Regions from separate parts of the Homo sapiens genome. Here all the other regions are linked to region 1. Evidence: promoter capture Hi-C in 16 types of primary human blood cells and fetal thymus (Javierre and others, 2016). All regions are on one chromosome and are shown on one strand. The core of a region is centred on a gene start or on the middle of the fragment in contact, and the rest is flanking DNA. Distances in the headings are between cores, read along the strand shown. Region 1 holds the start of ZNF329 (zinc finger protein 329). Region 2 holds the start of ZNF543 (zinc finger protein 543). Region 3 overlaps ZNF17 (zinc finger protein 17). Region 4 overlaps ZNF749 (zinc finger protein 749). Region 5 has its middle 3.4 kb from the start of VN1R1. Region 6 holds the start of ZNF772 (zinc finger protein 772). Region 7 holds the start of ZNF773 (zinc finger protein 773).

The links. The method cuts DNA at HindIII sites, captures the fragments that hold promoters and counts their contacts. A CHiCAGO score of 5 or more calls a contact.
Region 2: a contact is called between the fragment with the promoter of ZNF543 here and the fragment with the promoter of ZNF329 in region 1, in 14 of 17 cell types (naive CD4 T cells, naive CD8 T cells, activated CD4 T cells and 11 more). The highest score is 29.2, in naive CD4 T cells.
Region 3: a contact is called between a fragment that was not itself captured here and the fragment with the promoter of ZNF329 in region 1, in 5 of 17 cell types (naive CD4 T cells, total CD4 T cells, activated CD4 T cells and 2 more). The highest score is 10.7, in naive CD4 T cells.
Region 4: a fragment that was not itself captured here is called in contact with the fragment with the promoter of ZNF329 in region 1 in 4 of 17 cell types (non-activated CD4 T cells, naive CD4 T cells, total CD8 T cells and 1 more); the score reaches 6.4 in non-activated CD4 T cells.
Region 5: a fragment that was not itself captured here is called in contact with the fragment with the promoter of ZNF329 in region 1 in 4 of 17 cell types (naive CD4 T cells, erythroblasts, non-activated CD4 T cells and 1 more); the score reaches 7.2 in naive CD4 T cells.
Region 6: the fragment with the promoter of ZNF772 here is called in contact with the fragment with the promoter of ZNF329 in region 1 in 17 of 17 cell types (total CD8 T cells, total CD4 T cells, naive CD4 T cells and 14 more); the score reaches 31.9 in total CD8 T cells.
Region 7: a fragment that was not itself captured here is called in contact with the fragment with the promoter of ZNF329 in region 1 in 5 of 17 cell types (total CD8 T cells, naive CD4 T cells, fetal thymus and 2 more); the score reaches 6.9 in total CD8 T cells.

Annotation. Positions count from the first base shown.
Region 1 is chr19:58,149,494-58,152,089 of GRCh38, forward strand. ZNF329 (zinc finger protein 329) reads right to left here and starts at 1,296. Exons shown (of 4, transcript NM_024620.4): 1 at 1,259-1,296. RefSeq lists an enhancer at 1,373-1,432. The HindIII fragment of the contact is 7,703 bases long and covers 1-2,596 here.
Region 2 is chr19:57,319,154-57,321,749 of GRCh38, forward strand. ZNF543 (zinc finger protein 543) reads left to right here and starts at 1,319. Exons shown (of 4, transcript NM_213598.4): 1 at 1,319-1,718. The coding sequence starts at 1,701. RefSeq lists enhancers at 1-212, 1,138-1,257, 1,268-1,417. The HindIII fragment of the contact is 3,609 bases long and covers 1-2,306 here.
Region 3 is chr19:57,417,741-57,420,336 of GRCh38, forward strand. It overlaps ZNF17 (zinc finger protein 17), which reads left to right. Exons shown (of 4, transcript NM_001330617.2): 3 at 172-298; 4 at 1,895-2,596. Among named protein-coding and RNA genes, the nearest start is that of ZNF17, 7.9 kb to the left of the region's middle. The HindIII fragment of the contact is 1,613 bases long and covers 474-2,086 here.
Region 4 is chr19:57,437,045-57,439,640 of GRCh38, forward strand. All of the region lies in intron 1 of ZNF749 (zinc finger protein 749), which reads left to right. Among named protein-coding and RNA genes, the nearest start is that of ZNF749, 3.0 kb to the left of the region's middle. The HindIII fragment of the contact is 1,919 bases long and covers 355-2,273 here.
Region 5 is chr19:57,459,271-57,461,866 of GRCh38, forward strand. It overlaps the pseudogene VN1R107P. Among named protein-coding and RNA genes, the nearest start is that of VN1R1, 3.4 kb to the left of the region's middle. The HindIII fragment of the contact is 3,582 bases long and covers 1-2,596 here.
Region 6 is chr19:57,476,267-57,478,862 of GRCh38, forward strand. It overlaps ZNF772 (zinc finger protein 772), which reads right to left and starts at 1,300. Exons shown (of 4, transcript NM_001144068.2): 1 at 1,011-1,300; 2 at 368-406. The coding sequence starts at 1,043. RefSeq lists enhancers at 501-1,024, 615-1,814. The HindIII fragment of the contact is 1,804 bases long and covers 955-2,596 here.
Region 7 is chr19:57,498,805-57,501,400 of GRCh38, forward strand. It overlaps ZNF773 (zinc finger protein 773), which reads left to right and starts at 1,134. Exons shown (of 4, transcript NM_198542.3): 1 at 1,134-1,309. The coding sequence starts at 1,277. The HindIII fragment of the contact is 4,827 bases long and covers 1-2,596 here.

The sequences.
Region 1 (2,596 bases), core at 46-2,545:
GTGTTAATAATTTTAGAATCTGGATGGTTTTAGAAGTGTTAAACTATTCCTGCAACTTCTATGCAAATGCGGAACTTTTCAAAATGAAAAGTTGGGTGAAGAGAGAGGTAAACAAGCAGTAGAATGGAGGAAAGTCACTTGCTGTGGGAAAAAAGAAAAAACAGACAAAAACTGGGTATTCAAAACGTACTTCAACAAGCCCAAGTTCCTATAGCCAAATTTTTTAACTTGGCAAAAAATAAAGGACCTTTTCAGGCTGATGGTAATTTTAATAAAGGTTTAGGTTGCATTTGTCAAAATTCATCAATGGTACAGGGAATATCTGTGCATTTCACTGAAAGTCAATTTTGGCTCAAAAAATTTAAAAAAGCACTACTGAACTCTAATTCATGGTAAGCATAGTGAGGTGTTTGAGGGAGAAGTGTTGTGATATCTGCAACTTACTTTGAAATGTTTCCAAAAATAGGTGGATTAATGAATGGCTGAAAGGATGGACAGAAGGAAAGATAAGGGATACAGTAAGTTCAGCAGACGTTAACCGGGTCGTTCACTGCACAAGTCTTTCAGCTTCTCTATCTAAACCAACATTTTATGTCATAAAATATTGAGACTGGAAGACTGCACAAAGGAAATATGCCACTAAACCAAGGGAAAAGACAGCAAAATGGTCACTAAACACGTGCAAAAATGCGGCCCTCACTGAGAATTGCAGTAAAACATGATTTTGCAAATATCAAATGGAAAAACACACAGGTGATCTAACACCTTCGAGACTCAAGGGGAAGCGGCTCAGCCCACTGGCTCACGGCCGCCAATTCAGCCGGAGGCCGACCCAAGCCTACACTGCCCCTCACACCTGACAGAAAAGCTGCAGACTCGGGGGTTACCCCCGGAGACGGACCAGGACACCCAGCAGGCGTGGCAAAACAGTCTCTATGGGAGGGCGGGCTAGAGATGCGAGCGCGGAACTCACGGGTGACGCTAAGGAAAGAGCGGGGGCGTCCAGACCAGCCCCGGAGCGACCTCGTCCTCAGAGGAGTGACCCCAATCGCCACGGAGCGTCCCCACCCACCAGGAGAACTACGCCCCTGGCCAGACCCTCGCCCTAGCGGGCCCGACATGCCCACCACCCAGGTGAAACCCACCCGCGGACGCGCCCCTCGCCGCCCCACAAGGACCCGGCGGACCTCCACCCGCCAAGACTTCCCTCCGCAGGAAACGGAGGCAGCGCAGGGCTCAGGGATGCGTCGGCACTTACGGTTGGCGGCCGGCGGCAGCCATGTTCCGGGCGATTGCGCTTGCGCGGCTGCCGGGACAAGGATGTGCGCGTGCGCGGAGTCCCCGAGCTTCCCCCGCCCAACGCTGGGGCGGCCGCGGGTACCGGGTTATTCATTACCCTGGCGTGGACTTGCCTCGGGGCGGACGCGCAGGCATTTACTTTCTCCTATGGTCTCCTCTGATTTTTAACCCGATGCTATCATTCTTTTGTTATAGAGCCTTCCTTTTATTTACTGCATAATTTCCTAAAATATTTCTTTATCTATAATCTTTTTTTGAGATAATAATGTTAAAATTCAGAATAAGTACACTCATTATTCATTGGCAATATAATTATTTACTGGGTGCGTGGCTCACGCCTGTAATCCCAGCATTTTGGGAGGCCTAATTTGTTAAAATGACTAGATCTAAGAAATGTAAACAAAGCCAGTAACTTTCCTCTGTAGTAACAATAGCCGGTTGAAAATGAAAACTACACATTTTCATTCTTTCAGTGGTTCTCTTAAACTTTAGCATGGGGAAGCCTAAATATTTACTGACAGGGAAGAGAGAAACTGTGGTATGTGCAACGGAGCAATAGGGGGTGGTTAAAACAAACGGACTGGGCTCACCTAAGGTCAGGAGTTTGAGACCAGCCTGGCCAACATGGTGAAACCCCGTCTCCACTAAAAATACAAAAATTAGCTAGGCGTGGTGGCAGGCGCCTGTAATCCCAGCTCCTCGGGAGGCTGAGGCAAGAGAATCACTTGAACCTGGGAGGCGGAGGTTGCAGTGAGCTGAGATCGTACCATCACACTCCAGCCTGGGGGACAAGAGGGAGACTTCGTCTCAAAAAAAAAAAAAAAAAAAAGGACTAACTTATATACAAGATAGACAGTTCTCCAAAAACAGTTCGAAAAGTAAACTGTGCACTTATCCACATGATACAACTTACCTGGAAATAAAAGACACAAAATCTATATGTTATACAGAGATTGATACATAAGTAGTAAAGTAACAATAACATGGACCAGATAGATTGTCCAACCTCAAGAAAGTGGCAACTGAGGGGAAAGAGTTGGGGAGGAGACAAAGGAGACCTCAGTTACACCTGTGATGCTTGATAGGAAAAAACAAATCAAAACCTGAAAATCTGACTACATGTTAACACAGGTAAAATCTCGATGATACATGGGTGTCATCTTTATTATTTATAGATTATTCTATTACTCTCCGAACCTCTCCGCAGGTTGAAATACTTCACAATTTTGAAATGAAAATTAGAAAAAAAATTCTAAGCCATAATAGTGATTAAATTGTCACTCACAATAGTGATGGT
Region 2 (2,596 bases), core at 69-2,568, 830 kb before region 1:
TGAGTAGTATTCCATGGAGTGTATATATATATACACATATATACATATACATACATATATATACATATATATACATATACATACATATATACATATATACATATACATACATATATATACATATATATACATATACATACATATATATACATATATATACATATACATACATATATATACATATACATACATATATATACATATATATACATATACATACATATATACACATATATATACATATACATACATATATACATATATATACATATACATACATATATACATATATATACATATACATACATATATACATATACATACATATATATACATATATACATATACATACATATATATACATATATATATCGCATTTTCTTTATCCAATCATCTGTCGATGGACACTTAGGTTGATTCTATGACTTTGCTACTGTGAATAGTGCTACAGTAAGCATGTAAGTACAGGCATCTTTTTGATATAGTGGTTTATTTTCCTTTAAGTAAATACCCAATAGTGGAATTGCCAGATCAAATGGCAGTTCTATTTTCAGTTCTTTGATAAATCTCCATACTGTTTTCCATAGAGGTTGTACTAATTTACATTCCCACCAATAGCATATAAGCGTTCCCTTTTCCTTGCATCCATACCAACATCTGTTGGTTTTTTACTTTTTAATAATAGCCACTCTGACCAGTATAAGATGGCATCTCAGTGTGTTTATGTGTGTGTGTTTTCTCTCATCATATCTCATTATAACCTCAAATTCCTGGGCTCAAGCAATCCTCTTGCTTCAGCCTCCCAGTGTCTAGGACTACAGGTGTACACCATCATGCCTTGCTCTTTTTTTTTTTTTTGGTAGATATAACATCTTACTATATTGCCCAGGGTGGTCTCAAACTCCTGACCTCAGCAATTATTTTGTGTTGGCATCCCAAAGCACTGAGATTACATATATGAGCTACCTCCCTAAAATAAGGGAAGTGAGCCAGAAGCTCTGGGCCCAGCCCATGATCTCAATCGGGGCGAATATCCCCGCCTCCTGACCTCAATTTTCCTAAGCTAGAAAGGACCTTTCGACCCTCCGACTTGTGCCCATAGTAAAGCGGCGGCCCTAAGACGACGCGGGGGTCCTTGTGCGCACTTAAATGGAGTCGGCTGCGCTTGGTGAGTTCCCACACCCGGTAGATGTGAGGGAAAAACTGCCTTACTCAGAAGGCACCACCCCTTGCGTCGGCCGCGGACTCTAGGCCAATGACGGGCCAGGACACGGGCGATTTCTGCGGGCCAGGGCGGCGGAGGTGGGACTTCCGCTTCGTCGCGTGACGTCATCTCCGTGAGCAGGATTGGCCCTGGAACAGTGTGGGGCCTGGACCGCTGGGTAGGCGCGTCCAGCGGCCTGAGCAGGGGAGGGTAATGAGGCTGTTACGCGCCTTCTCCGCATCTTGGCGGGAGCCTGACGCCCCGCTTCTTCCCTAACGGGGTGTTCCACCGGCGCCTGCCGAGGCCTAGGCCTCCGCAGCCGCCCTCCGTCTCCTCAGCCCCGACGCTGCGCCCGCTTTGTGCGCATTTTTCTCTGGGGAAACTGAGGCTCCGAGTGCGAAAGTCAGCCGAGGTCGCCCCGCCCAGGACAGAGAAGGGCTGGGGGTCGGCTGAGCCGCGGCATTCCCGGGCCCCGCTAGGGCTGCAGGGTCTCAGGATGGCAGCCTCGGCGCAGGTGAGTGGACGAGGTTTTGGCCTTGCTGCTGCTCTGCTACTTCTGGAGGCCTCGTGGGCAGGCAGAAGCCAAGACAGCCACAGGATGTTTCTTTGTCGCCGTCGTTTATTTAAGAGAAGTGGCCGTAGCTTGTCATTTCCTTTATCCGCAGTCCTGCAATAGTGTTGGCCTCCGACAGGTGCTCAGTCCTTGGTAGAAGGATGAATGATGCTTCCTTCATGGATCTCATCACACTTCCCTTAAATCCAACCTCCTCTGTTGCCTGCCAGCCCCTACCCCATCCACCTGGCCAACCACCCCTGACCTTGTCTCTCCATTTTTCCCTTGTCCTTTGCTCTTCAGAGCCACCAACCTGACCGTGCAGTCTTCTTCCTTTTTCCAGGCTTTCTCTTTGCACTTCCCTTTGCCTTGAACACTGCCCCTATAACTTCGCAGGGCCTCCCTCTCATATCTTTCTGGCCTCTGTCCAGATGTCACCTATTTGGAGGTGGCTTTCTTGGCAATTCCGGCTAAAGTGGCGCCTTACGCACTTGCCCATTTTTGGCAATGTGTGGCATTTTTGTATAGAGAATCTGACGATATTAAAGAAGCTTGCCGTTTGAGTTGGTCTAGGATGTTATGTGAACAAAGAGAAACGAAATAATTGCAAAGAGTGACAGCTGATCATAAAGAGTCCTTGCTGTGGGCTGATTGGCAGGCATTATTTAACCCTCAGCTCCTTTAATCCTGAACTCCTTAGAATTAGGTTCTCTTGTCCTCACTGTTTTACACAAGAGCAGCTGGAGGCTCACATAGGTTCAATTACCTGCCTTACATCACTGTAGCTCTTAAGTATCAGAAACTAACAACTGGTGTGTCTACCATCACAGCCTGTGTTT
Region 3 (2,596 bases), core at 30-2,529, 730 kb before region 1:
GGAGGCTGAGGCAGGAGAATCACTTGAATCCGGGAGGCGGAGCTTGCAGTGAGCCGAGATCACACCACTGCACTCCAGCCTGGCAACAGAGCGAGACTCCATCTCAAAAAAAAAAAAAAAAAGAAAGAAAAAAAAAGTTGCTCACAGACTAAACTGTTATAATTTTGGCAGGATTATATGGTTTTTGAGGACGTGGCCATACATTTCTCCCAGGAGGAGTGGGGAATTCTTAATGACGTTCAGAGACACCTGCACAGCGATGTGATGCTGGAGAACTTTGCACTTTTGTCCTCAGTAGGTAAGGCCCTGACACCTACGTCAGTGTCTTGTGCTGGGCAATGTTTTTTCACTTTTTTCCTTGGCATCTCCGTCTCACACCAGGTCATGGATGCTGCATCCTCTCCTGGTTTCCTGGCATATGTGTTGTGGCAGCTACAGCTGGGCTGTGTGATCTGTATCAATTTTCCTTAAGAAGCTTAGCTCTTGTCACTCTGAAGCCTTATAAGGCTCAAAAGTCAGAAGTCCTCAGGTTTCTCAAGAATATCCTAATGACCTTGCCTGTCCCTGGTTAGTTTACTCTGTCCAAATGCATGACACTTTCTCTGTGCAAGGCTTTCTCCATTCTTCTTGCTGACATAGGGATACCCTGTGTCAGGAATTTCAGGGACCTACCTCGTCACTGCTTGTGAGGACTGTGGGCTTATTTCTGCAGGACTCTCCACTAGAAGTTCTGGTAACTTTAGAATACAGCATGTCCTGGGTTTATTGCTCTGTGTACATGCTGTTGACACCCTCCCTTTCCCTGTCTTTCCCCTAGCTTGGCTAACGCCACACCTAGATAGTTGCTCACCTTGAGCAAGGTAGAGGTCCCTGGGTGCCTGACAGAGTGGACATTACTCCATTGAAGGCAAGAGATGCTCAAAAGGACTTGGCCCTGGTGGATGGGAGCTCAGAAGGGGTGTGATGACAGGGCTGGGTTCACATCACACTGGGAATCAATCCAGTTTGATGCCCCTGCCAGTGGCCACACCGCATGTCTCTCTTTTCTTCCCTATTGTGATCTCTCTTTTGACTTTCATCTCCTGGCTCCCACCTCTGACCCTACGTCTCTGGCCTCCACCTCTCACCTGTTCCCGTTTTTTGTTTTTTTTTTGTTTTTGTTTTTGTTTTTGAGATGGAGTTTCGCTCTTGCAATGGTGCGCGCGATCTTGACTCACTGCAACCTCTGCTTCCCGGGTTCAAGCGATTCTTCTGCCTCAGCATCCCAAATAGCTGGGATTACAGGCATGCGCCACCACACCTGGCTAATTTTGTATTTTTAGTAGAGACGGTGTTTCTCCATGTTGGTCAGGCTGGTCTCGAACTCCTGACCTCAGCTGATCCGCCTGCCTTGGCCTCCCAAAGTTCTGGGATTATAGGTGTGAGCCACTGCACCCAGCCACCTGTTCCTTTTACTGTTCCCTTTGTAGTGCCCTCAACATATGACCTGTACTTAAGGTGTTGTGAGGTCTGGATGTATATATTTCAGCAGTCCCTGAACACCAGCTCTACTGTCACATCAGATCTCTCTGGGTCTGGACACAGTCTTCTACACATTGTTCACCAGAAGCTATGGCCTGTTGAAAGCCATTCACTGAGGAGTAACTTGGGGACTCCACTTCTGTGCTCTGCACTGTACCACTCCCTATGTTGTTCCCCATCATCAGGACTCTTTCGTTATGGGTTTCTGTCAGTCCCGGTTCTGCCCAGTAGGCTTTCCTCTCACTGGCTTTAATGTCCCATGCCTGTCACCAATCCCATGGTCTTATTTGTGAGTTGGTCTGACAGACATTTGTTATGGGGCTGCCTCTTCCCTCCAAAGTCATCATGCACTTCATGAGCATTTCTGTTTTAGGTTGTTGGCATGGAGCCAAGGATGAGGAGGCACCTTCCAAGCAATGTGTTTCTGTAGGAGTGTCACAGGTCACAACTTTAAAGCCAGCTTTGTCCACCCAGAAGGCCCAGCCCTGTGAGACATGTAGCTCACTTCTGAAGGACATTCTACACCTGGCTGAGCATGACGGAACACACCCCAAGCGTACAGCCAAGCTTTACCTGCACCAAAAGGAGCATCTTAGAGAGAAGCTCACCAGAAGTGATGAAGGGAGGCCTTCGTTTGTGAATGACAGTGTTCACCTGGCAAAGAGGAACCTCACATGCATGCAGGGTGGCAAGGATTTTACTGGTGATTCAGATCTTCAACAACAGGCTCTTCACAGTGGGTGGAAGCCACACAGGGACACTCATGGTGTGGAGGCCTTTCAAAGTGGACAGAATAATTACAGCTGCACCCAATGTGGGAAAGACTTTTGCCACCAACATACACTGTTTGAGCACCAGAAAATCCACACAGAGGAAAGGCCTTATGAGTGCAGTGAATGTGGCAAATTGTTTAGGTACAACTCCGACCTTATTAAACATCAGCGAAATCATACTGGAGAAAGGCCTTATAAGTGTAGTGAATGTGGAAAAGCCTTCAGCCTCAAATACAATGTTGTTCAACACCAGAAAATTCACACTGGAGAAAGGCCTTATGAGTGCAGTGAATGTGGGAAAG
Region 4 (2,596 bases), core at 64-2,563, 710 kb before region 1:
TTATGTTAAAATAAGATAAGTTTTTATTGGCTATACATTCTTATTTATATTATAGATTACAGAAACATGAAGATAATAGGTGAGACAGCTAGTCAGGAACAGAATGTCTTAAAACAGTTGTCCTCAGGCATAGGTTCAGGGATGTGACTGACATCTCATATATTCTTGCCTCTCTGAGCCTGATACATTTTGTGTAGGTCAGACAGGTCTGGGCTATTTTTTTTTTTCCTCAGCCAATATCCTTCTAAATATGTACACATAGGCAATTGGAAATAGATGTAATCAATAATTTAAATGTATTAAAATATTTATTGTTAGAATGTTAATTTACCTGTAACTCTGCTTATAGTACAAAGCTTTATATATATATCACATTTCCTTAAAACATTAAGAAGTGTGGGCTGGGCACAGTGGCTCATGCCTGTAATCCCAGCACTTTGGGAAGCGAAGGTGGGCGGATCACGAGGTCAGGAGTTTGAGACCAGCCTGGCCAACATGGTGAAACTCTGTCTCTACTAAAAATACAAAAATTACCTGGGCGTGGTGGCGGGCGCCTGTAATCCCAGCTACTTAGGAGGCTGAGGCAGGAGAATCGTTTGAACCCGGGAGGTGGAGGTTCCAGTGAGCTGAGATTGTGCCATTGCACTGCAGCCTGGGCAACAGGGCGAGACACTGTCTCAAAAAAAAAAAAAAAAAAGGGAAAAATACTCAAATTTTCAAAACCCTTCTACTTTGTGCTGAAAACATGTACAAAACCATTAATCCTATAGAAAGTAATGCTTATACATAGTGTGTACTACTTATGCTTCTTGTCAATATGAGCCCTGTGAAGTGGGAACCCTTTTAATCTCCATTTTACACATAAGGGCACTGAGGCTTAGGGAGGTTCAGTCCTTGTCCAAAGACACAGAGCTGCTAAGAGGCAGCACTGAACTTAGGACTTGCTGTAGCTTCAGATTACTTTGCTCCAGTACAGGGCAGAGATGGTTGTACAGCTCAGCCTGTAGGATGCCACAGTACTGTCCTGATACTCATGGCTTGCTTCTTCCTGTTACAGGCCGAAAGAATGAGGGTCGTGATCAACTCAGTATGCCACTGGAGGCTATATGAGTAAACAGCAAACTGTTTCTCATGAAAGCAGGATGTTGGCAAACTGACAAACTGCGTCTGCCACCCAGAAGGAATGCTGAAGGCAGTCACGACCCAGGCACAAGTGTTTCTTGTGATTAGGCATAATTGAAGCCTGTTAACAATAATGTGAACTTGTGATCAATTAAGCAGCTGACCAGTCGTTACCTCCTCCTCCCTTTCATCCTACCCAATAAATGTGGAGGGCTGTGGAAGCTCAGGGGCTGCCTTTGCTCACTAGAAGCAGGGAGCTCTCTTCTTCCCCAGTTCGCCTTCTTTAAAACAGTTTCTTTCGTCTTAAGTTTTCATTTCTACGTTCGTCCCCCTTCATTCAGTCTCGTAATGATGGTCTCAAGTAGTAACAGTAACTGTCGTAGTGATGGTCTCAAGTAGTAACTGTACAAGTCTGCCACATCTTCCCACAGGGTCCATTGCAGTGGCAGCAATGCATAAGGACCCTGCACAGGTAAGTCAAGGATTTCTCAGGCTCTCTACCCCAGGCCCCCACCACTTATCTCTCCGTTATTTTAGGCATCCTGATATAGGGAAAGGTGGTGTCCTGAAACTTCATGTTTTTCCCTTCCTTGGGTCTGAAGACTGTGGTTCCACGACAACCAGGAGTCAGAACTCAGCCTCTGGTTATAGAGTGGTCCTAGTTCCGACAACTGATGGGATAAGATGTGGCAGGGCGTTCAGGCACGGGATATAGAAAGTTCAAATGCTTACTGGTGCGACTTAGCTGGGATGTTTAGTGAACTGAAAATCCATGTTGTATCTGGTCGTGATAGAGTATGGCAGCAGGGTAGGAGGTTGGGGCATACAGGGCATGCGGGATCGGCATGGAATGGCAGTCTAAGGTTCTGGGCCTTTCATCTGAGGGCGATGGTAACTAGGGAAGGTTTGAGGAGGGGGGAAAAAGAGGTGACCTGACCCAGGTTTTAGTGGCTCCCTCTGCCTGCAGAATGGAAGACCACGTGCAGGTGAGGGTGGAGCCACCGATACCTGGGTGATGGGTCCAGCAACAGCCCAGGTGGAGGTTGTTGGTGACTGAACGAGAGTGGCGGTGGTGGAAGTGGGAGGAGTGGGGGGCTTCTGTATGTGTTTGATCTAGAGCTGCCTGTATTTTATAACGTAGAGAGCAAGGAAGCTTGGGAGCTGAGATGGAAGAGGGGGTCAGGAATGGCCCCACAGTTTTGGCCTTATTTGGAAGGATGGATGTCCCAGCAACTAAGATGTAGTAAGTTCTGTAGTAGGGGGAGTGTTTATATAGTAGAGCATATGAGGAACCAAGTTTTGGCCAAGTCAAAAATGTTCCAGTGGCCAGGCATGGTGGATCACACCTGTAATCCCAGCACTTTGGGAGGCAGAGGTGGGAAGATTGCTTGAGGCCAGCCTGGGCAACATAGGGAGACTCTGTCCCTACAAATAATAATAAATAGCTGGGTGTGGTGGCGTCTCTCTGTGGTCT
Region 5 (2,596 bases), core at 25-2,524, 690 kb before region 1:
TAGGTAAACGTGTGCCATGGTGGTTTGCTGCACCTATCAACCCGTCACCTAGGTATTAAGCTCAGCATGCGTTAGCTATTTATCCTGATGTGCTCCATCCCCCGACCCCTTTGACATATTCCAGTGTGTGTTGTTCCCCTCCCTGTCTCCATGTGTTCTCATCGCTCAACTCTCACTTATAAGTGAGAACATTTGGTGTTTGGTTTTCTGTTTCTGTGTTAGTTTTCTGAGGATAATGGCTTCCAGCTCCATCCATATCCCTGCAAAGGACGTGATCTCATTCTTTTTATGGCTGCATAGTATTCCATGGTGTATATGTACCACATTTTCTTTATCACTGATGGGCATTTGGGTTGATTCCATTTCTTTGCTATTGTGAATAGTGCTGCAATGAACATATACATGCATGTATCCTTATAACAGAATGATAATAATAGAATGATTTATATTCCTTTGGATATATACACAGTAATGGGATTGCTGGGTCAAATGGTATTTCTGGTTTTAGGTCTTTGAGGAATTGCTACACTGTCTTCCACAATGGTTGAACTAATTTACCTTCCCACCAACAGTGGAAAAGCATTCCTATTTCTCCACCACCTTGCCAGCATCTGTTGTTTCTTGACGTTTTAATAACAGCCCACTGAACAGCAAAAACCTTAGTGTGAAAAACAATTATGGAGTCTGCTCCTGGGCAATGCAAGAAATATTTGGCACCTTATATACAATTATATACTTTTCTCCTGACTTTTTGAGTTTTGGCTTCTTGGTGTGGGTCAGTGGCTCCATAGTCTTTGTCCTATACAGACACAAGCAGCAAGTCCAACACATTTGTAGCAAGAGACTCTCCTCAAATCAGTATAAGTAAAATTAGGAAAATATTAAGATGATAGTGAGGGCCGGGTGTGGTGGCTCATGCCTGTAATCTCAGCACTTTGGGAGGCCGATGCAGGCGGATCACGAGGTCAGGAGATAGAGACCATCCTGGCTAACACGGTGAAACCCCGTCTCTACTAAAAATACAAAAAATTAGCCGGACATTGTGGCGGGCACCTGTAGTCCCAGCTACTCGGGAGGCTGAGGCAGGAGAATGGCATGAACCCAGGAGGTGGAGCTTGCAGTGAGCCGAGATCGCGCCACTGCACTCCAGCCTGGGCGACAGAGTGAGACTCCATCTCAAAAAAAAAAAAAAAAGATGATAGTGAATATATCAAAATCAATATCATCATTGTGATATTATACTGTAATTGCCAAATGTAACCATGGGTGGAAACTGGGCCATGTGTAGAGGCTCTCTGAGTTATTTTTTAAACTGCTTGTGAGTCTAAAATTAAATTAAAATTATTGTTAATAAAATGGTCAGTAAAAATGCTCAGGAATATGTAAGGCAAAAATAAGGCATTATAAAACCTTGTCCGTCATTATGTTTTAATACACATCTCCTCACATACTTATCATTTCTTTCTGATGAGAACATTTAAAATCTACTCTTTTGGCAATTTTGGAATAGACATTAACAATAGTCACCACGCCGTGCAACAGATCACTAGAACACATTCCTTGTGTCTAACTGAAACTTCGTATGCTTTCACAAAAACCTCCCGTTTTTCAGTTTGCCCTCTATCTCTTTAGCCTCTGGTAACCACCATTCTACTCTCTACTTTTATAAACTCAACTTGCCTAAATTCTGCATACAAGTGAGACCATGACCATGTGGTGTTGGTCTTTTTGGACTTTCTTTGAATGTGTCCTGCCTTCAGAGATGTGTTGACCTACAAGAAAAATGTATTGAAGCATACCACTATAATGTGTGCACATTTCTGAATGTCATGTATAAGATACCTATTTTTGCCACTCCTATTCAGTATAGTACTAGAGGTCCTAGCCAGAGAAATCAGGCAAGAAAAATACCTAGCTAACTAAATAAAAGATATTCGGGTGAGAAAATATAAAGTAAAATTGTTTTTCTTTGTTGTAATATGATCTTATAAACTCTTAGAACTGGGGAACAAATTTAATATAGTTGTAAGACACAAAATCAATATACAAAAATCAGTAGCATTGCGGTACACCAATAATGAAATAGCCAAAACAGAAATCAAGAAGGCAATTCCATTTGCAATAGCTATAAAAAGCAAAATAAAATAAAATAGAACACTGAGAAATATTTAATCAAGAGGGGAAAGACATCAAGGAAAACTACAAAGCATTGATAAAATAAACTGAAGAGGACACAAACAAATGGAAAGACATCCCATGCTCATGTATTCAAAGAATACATATTGTTAAAATAACAGACAGTACTACCCAAAACAATCTAAAGATTTAATGCAAGCCCAATCAACATACAAATGCCATTTTTTCACAGATATAGAAAAAAATTCTAAAATTTGTATGGATCTTCAAAAGAGCCCAAATAGCCAAAGCAATCCTGAGCCAAAAGAACAAACCTGGAGCATCACACTACCTGACTTCAACACCTTACACAGCCATAGTATCCAAAACAGCATAGTATTGGTATTTTGTTTTTGTTTTTTGAGACGGAGACTCGCTGTGTCGCCCAGGCTGGAGTGCAGTGGCGCCACCTCGGCTCACT
Region 6 (2,596 bases), core at 50-2,549, 670 kb before region 1:
TCTACATAATCATCTTTAAGCCATTTCAGGATGATTCCCGCCCCCTTGCTCTTGGTTCCCACCAGACATGACAGAGACCTGCAATTTCTTGAAAACTCCCTTCTCAGTCTCACCTCTAAGTATTTTGCACAGGCTGGTTCCTGTGCCTGGAACAACCTTCCAACCTTATTCCAATGGTTGGCAGAAATGGAAACCCCTCCATAAAACCCCTGGCCCGGAGTCAGGACCCTGGGCTTGGGGCTTCTCCAGAGTCCTCAGACCCAAGAGATCGGAGAGTAGCAGGAGAGTGTTCTATATAACACCACAATGCTGGAGAGCGTATTGGGTGGGGGTGGGATCGGTGAGAGCATGGACATTCTCCCCTCACCTGTATAGGGTCCACAATTACTTCTGAGTTCATGGGAACCTGTGGGGAAGAGGGAGACTATGCGAGTCAAGCAATCTTGAAGGAACCCCAAAGGCTCAACCCCATCCCATATTCCTACCCAGTTACAATGTGCCTGGGAGCTGAATGTCTACCCTCTGTGCTTCCATCTTCAAGGATACCTCTTAACTGTGTTAGCTCGGAACAGTGCTCATTATCCGCCCCCATGGCCAACAAGAGTCTGCCCTCCATGAGCAGTCTATGGAATACTTTTTAAACCCTCGGATTCTGGCTCTCCTCTGTTCAGAACCTTCCATGGCTCCCATCACCCTCAGAATAGAGACCCAGCTGCTCAGGATGATATTCCAGGTGCAATCACTTATAAAGCGCTCTGATCCTTTCAGACACTAAAGGCCCAGTTTTCCCAAATGCTCCAGCTGTGAACCATCTCTGAGCCTTTGCATACACTGGTCTCTCTGCCTGGAACGTCCTTCAACTCGTGCTGTCAAAATGGGTCCCAAACACGAGCGCCCCCACTGTTCTAGATACAGGGGCCTGAGCTGCAGTAACCCGAGGAATCGTTCATTCGAAGCTTTGGGATTCAGAGATGGGGGTCAGCGCGCAGACTCGCAGACGCAGCACCCACCTGTGCCGGGCCCATCGGCTCAGCCGCCGCCATCAGGCCTGTGGACTACGGAAGGGTGGCGACAAGTGCAGGAACCTGGGATCAGCTGTCCAGGGCCCAGCCCAGCGGCTAGGTCACTCAGGCAGCGCCACTGTCAAGCCTCAGGCCCACCTCTCTTCAGGGAAGAAGACACTCTCTCACGTTTTCCCTTTTCTGTCACCTCAGGTCTGACATTGCGTTCTGGAAACTAAACCAGTGGATTAATGGAAAAGCAAACAAAATGTCCACCCGAGGATGGTAGAGGAAGTCCCGCCCTGACGTTGGTGAGGACCAACGGAAACGCCTATTTCCTGGGTTTTCATTGGCCCAGAGCCGCCAAGTTTCCTGGGTAATGTAGTTCCCACGGCACCAACACTAGTAAGCGGCGTCTCGCTTCACCTCCAGGTTAAAAGCCCAGAGAAGACCGCCAGGGGCGCGTGGAAATGGTGTCCCTCGTCTCCAAGGCCCAGACGGAGCTTAGCTTCCTCTTGAAGGAGCCATATCTGTATTTCTGGTGAACGTCGTGTTTGACATCAAAGGAATGTTTAGAGACATGATTTCAGCCTTCCTTACGCAGAGAATGCTCATCAAAAAATAAAATGGACACACCATACACTGACGTCACTCAGATTTCTATGGCTGGAAGTTAACAAATATTGTTTTCAAATGCGTGTAGCCTGATGCTCCAGAGTTAGTTTGGCGAGCCTCAGCATTTTCTGTCAGGCACAAGAAAGAAAAGACTCCAGACACCATGATGTGGAACGTGGAGTGGGGATGTTTGGTGGCCTTGAAGTAAGTGAATAACCCTTCTGTCTGTTACCTCAGAAAATATTTATCCTGCTTATACAGCAGTGATTGTGTCAAACCCAACAAGTAATACTCTTGTTCAAGATAGTATTTCATACTCCATATACAGAGATGTATTCAATATTTTAAGTGTTTTACAAGTGTCTGAAAAGACAGAATTCATCAAATGTCATATGGCAATGAAAAGGGCAACATGAACACTTTCTGTAAAGAAGAAATAACCACCAAACTAGATGTCTATACACAACAAAATGTCTTTTATGGAAGTGTGATATAAAACTATTTGAAACCAAAAATGATAAATGTAATGGAAATACATTTACACAAAAAATAATGTTTAAAATAATACTCAAGGCCAAAGAAAGTTGATCTCAGGTGAAAAGTCTGCAATGAGAGAAGAAATGAAGATGAAAAGAAGTGCATCTTTTGATTAAAATAACAGCATATTACAGTGTAAAACATAAGTAGATATACTTATTGAGTTAGAATGATGGAATTCCCGTGCGTAACCTCAACTACATATAAATTGAAAGGAGGCTAGTTGCTCAAAGTTTTAAATTTTTTATATTTCCAAGTGGAAAGCAAATGTATTACAATCCTGTATGGCACGCTAATGTGTTAAACGTTTGTAATTTTTAGCCTAAATATAATAAATACAGTCAGCGTATATACTTTTCAAACTAGAAGAGGAAATGTTTGGAATATAAATAAATAATCAATAGAAAGGTAAAATAATAGTAAAATAAGTGGAAGAAGTGAGG
Region 7 (2,596 bases), core at 72-2,571, 650 kb before region 1:
AACAGATTTATTTTGCCTTTGTTTTCATTTCTGCATTCGTTCCCCTTCGTTCAGTCCCATAGTAACTGTGACAGGAATATGGAGCAGAAATGGATGAAGGGGAGAAATTGAGGGGGAGTTGGCTTATGGGTTTGCTGCCTGTTGTTGTGCCTTTACACCAATGTTGGGTCCTTGAGGAAGGAAAGAACACAAATGAGAATGGGGTGAAAGAGGAACGTAAATCCTTGGGCTCCCCTACTCTCTCATCACCTACATCCAGAATTCAGAGCCTTTTCTTATTATCATACATCAGGCATTAATATTGGGTGTCCCCTTGCCAAAGGAAATTTAGGAAGGTATACGTGGCTTTGCCCAGTGAAACCTCTTTATGGTGGCCCTGAAGATCCTCTTCAAGTCCTTCAAAAGAAGGAAAGATTGGAGTATCAGCTGCAGGAAACTGAAATCCAGGCCCATCTCCAATTACAACAGGTTCCAGATGAGTCCGAGAGTTCTCGACACTCATTTCTCCTCCATCTCCTACTCCATCATCTCCATCTCCATCTTCTCCATCATCTCCATCTTCATCATCATCTCCATCTCCATCATCTCCATGTCCATCATCATCTCTATCTCCATCATCTCCATCTCCATCATCTCCATCTCCATCATCATCTCTATCTCCATCATCATCTCTATCTCCATCATCTCCATCTCCATCATCTCCATCATCTCCATCTCCATCTCCTACTCCATCATCTCCATCTCCATCTTCTCCATCATCTCCATCTTCTCCATCATCTCCATCTTCTCCATCATCTCCATCTTCATCATCTCCATTTCCATCATCTCCATCTCCATCATCATCTCTATCTCCATCATCTCCATCTCCATCATCTCCATCATCTCCATCTCCATCTCCATCTCCATCATCTACCGTCTCCAATCTCCATCTCCGAAGTTATGCCCACTTCCTCGAAGTTTGGAGCCACGCGAACTACACTGCCCAGAAGGCGCCGCGCCGTGAGCCGCGATGCTTGGCCAATGAAAAGAGGTCTACCCGAGAGTGCGACGCGCAATGGGCGGGACTTCCGGCGTCTCCCCTCGGCGGTTGCTTTCGCTGCCCTCAAGAGAACTCAGCTTGCCGGAAGCTGGTTGTTCGCTGCGGCGACCAGCTCCGGAAAGCGCGGTGGGGACGCGCTGTGTTCTCGCAGCTCAGAGGCGGGTCTGAGGCTCGGTGGCGGCGCCCAGGGTGGCCCGGGCCCTTTCCTCGGTCGTTGTCTCACCGCCACAGGCTCCGATGGCGGCGGCCACGCTGAGGGACCCCGCTCAGGTGAGCGCCGCGTCCTCCCGGCCTCCCCCGAATCCTAAAGCCCTGTGAGGGCCGCCTGCTCAGGTCCCCGGGTGCAGAACTGTGGGGCGTTCGTGGGCGGCGTCCCGTTTCTGACACGCAGTGTGATGGGGTGGCAATGGAGGGCAAGGGGCCCGGCTCGCAAAGATGTGAGGCGCATTCAGCGAGTCCCGAACCTGAGGCCTCCTGGTGTCTGTAGTGGGCAGCTTGGGAAGGGACGAGGCGCGTGTCGAGCGACAGCCCGAGCAGCTGCGCTTTCATCCTGAGGGGGCCACAGTGGCCGCGGAGGGCTGGAGACAGAAGAGTGACAAGATCTGTTTCTCAAAGTTTGCCAAAGGCCCTTCAAGTCAAAACAGACTGGGGTGGGGGTGAGGCGGGTGAAGACAGACCTGTGAGTAGGTAAATTCAGTAGACTAGTGGAGAGTCTACTGGGACTGGGCCACAGAGGAGGGGAAGTGATCAGATCTTGGATGGATTTCAAAAACTGAACAGACGGGAATTCCTGTTGCATCAGATGTGACTGTGAAAGAAAGTAGGGAATGAAGAGCCATTCTGGATTTTTATTTGTATTTTTGTTTGTTCCTGAATATCAGGAAGGATGGAGATGGGTAAGGCTGTGCAGGGAATAGGTTTTGGGCATGGTGATCCTGAGATGTCCCAGAGTGGAGGTGTCATGTCCACATGAGCAGCTGGAAGGCCTGGGGCTCGTATTTAGGAGGGAGAATCTTAAAGTTTTCTTTCAGATGGTCCCTGAGGTGAGGGAAGGGAGAGATGGGCCTGTAGGATGGGGCAGCCTCTACAGCCTGGAGTTTCGTGGTCCGAAGTGATTTTGTCTGGTGCCTGCAGGAATGGAGGGTTATAGAGTATGAACACCCAGGACTGGATGGAGACCGCAGTGTTGGGTAGTATATAGGTTTGCCACTCCAGGCTTAGTAGTTCCTCATGTCCAGTCCATATGGAGAAAAGGAAAGGTCAGCCAGGCTGGTGGAGCAGCACCTTTGGTGCCTAAGTTTCCCTAGCTATCAGCACAGGTGGGATGATCAACTGCTCCAGTAGAAGGGAGGGCTCTCAGCAGGATGGTCTTCAGGGGAGTATATAGCAGGCAGCCAGATTGCCAAAAGGAAACCCACATTGTCTTTCTTTTTCTTTCTTTTTTTTTTTTTTTTGAGACAGAATTCTGCTCTTGTGATCTGCCCACCTCGGCCTCCCAAAGTGTTGGGATTACAGGCTTGAGCCACTGCACCCAGGCAGAAACCCACATTTTGAAAA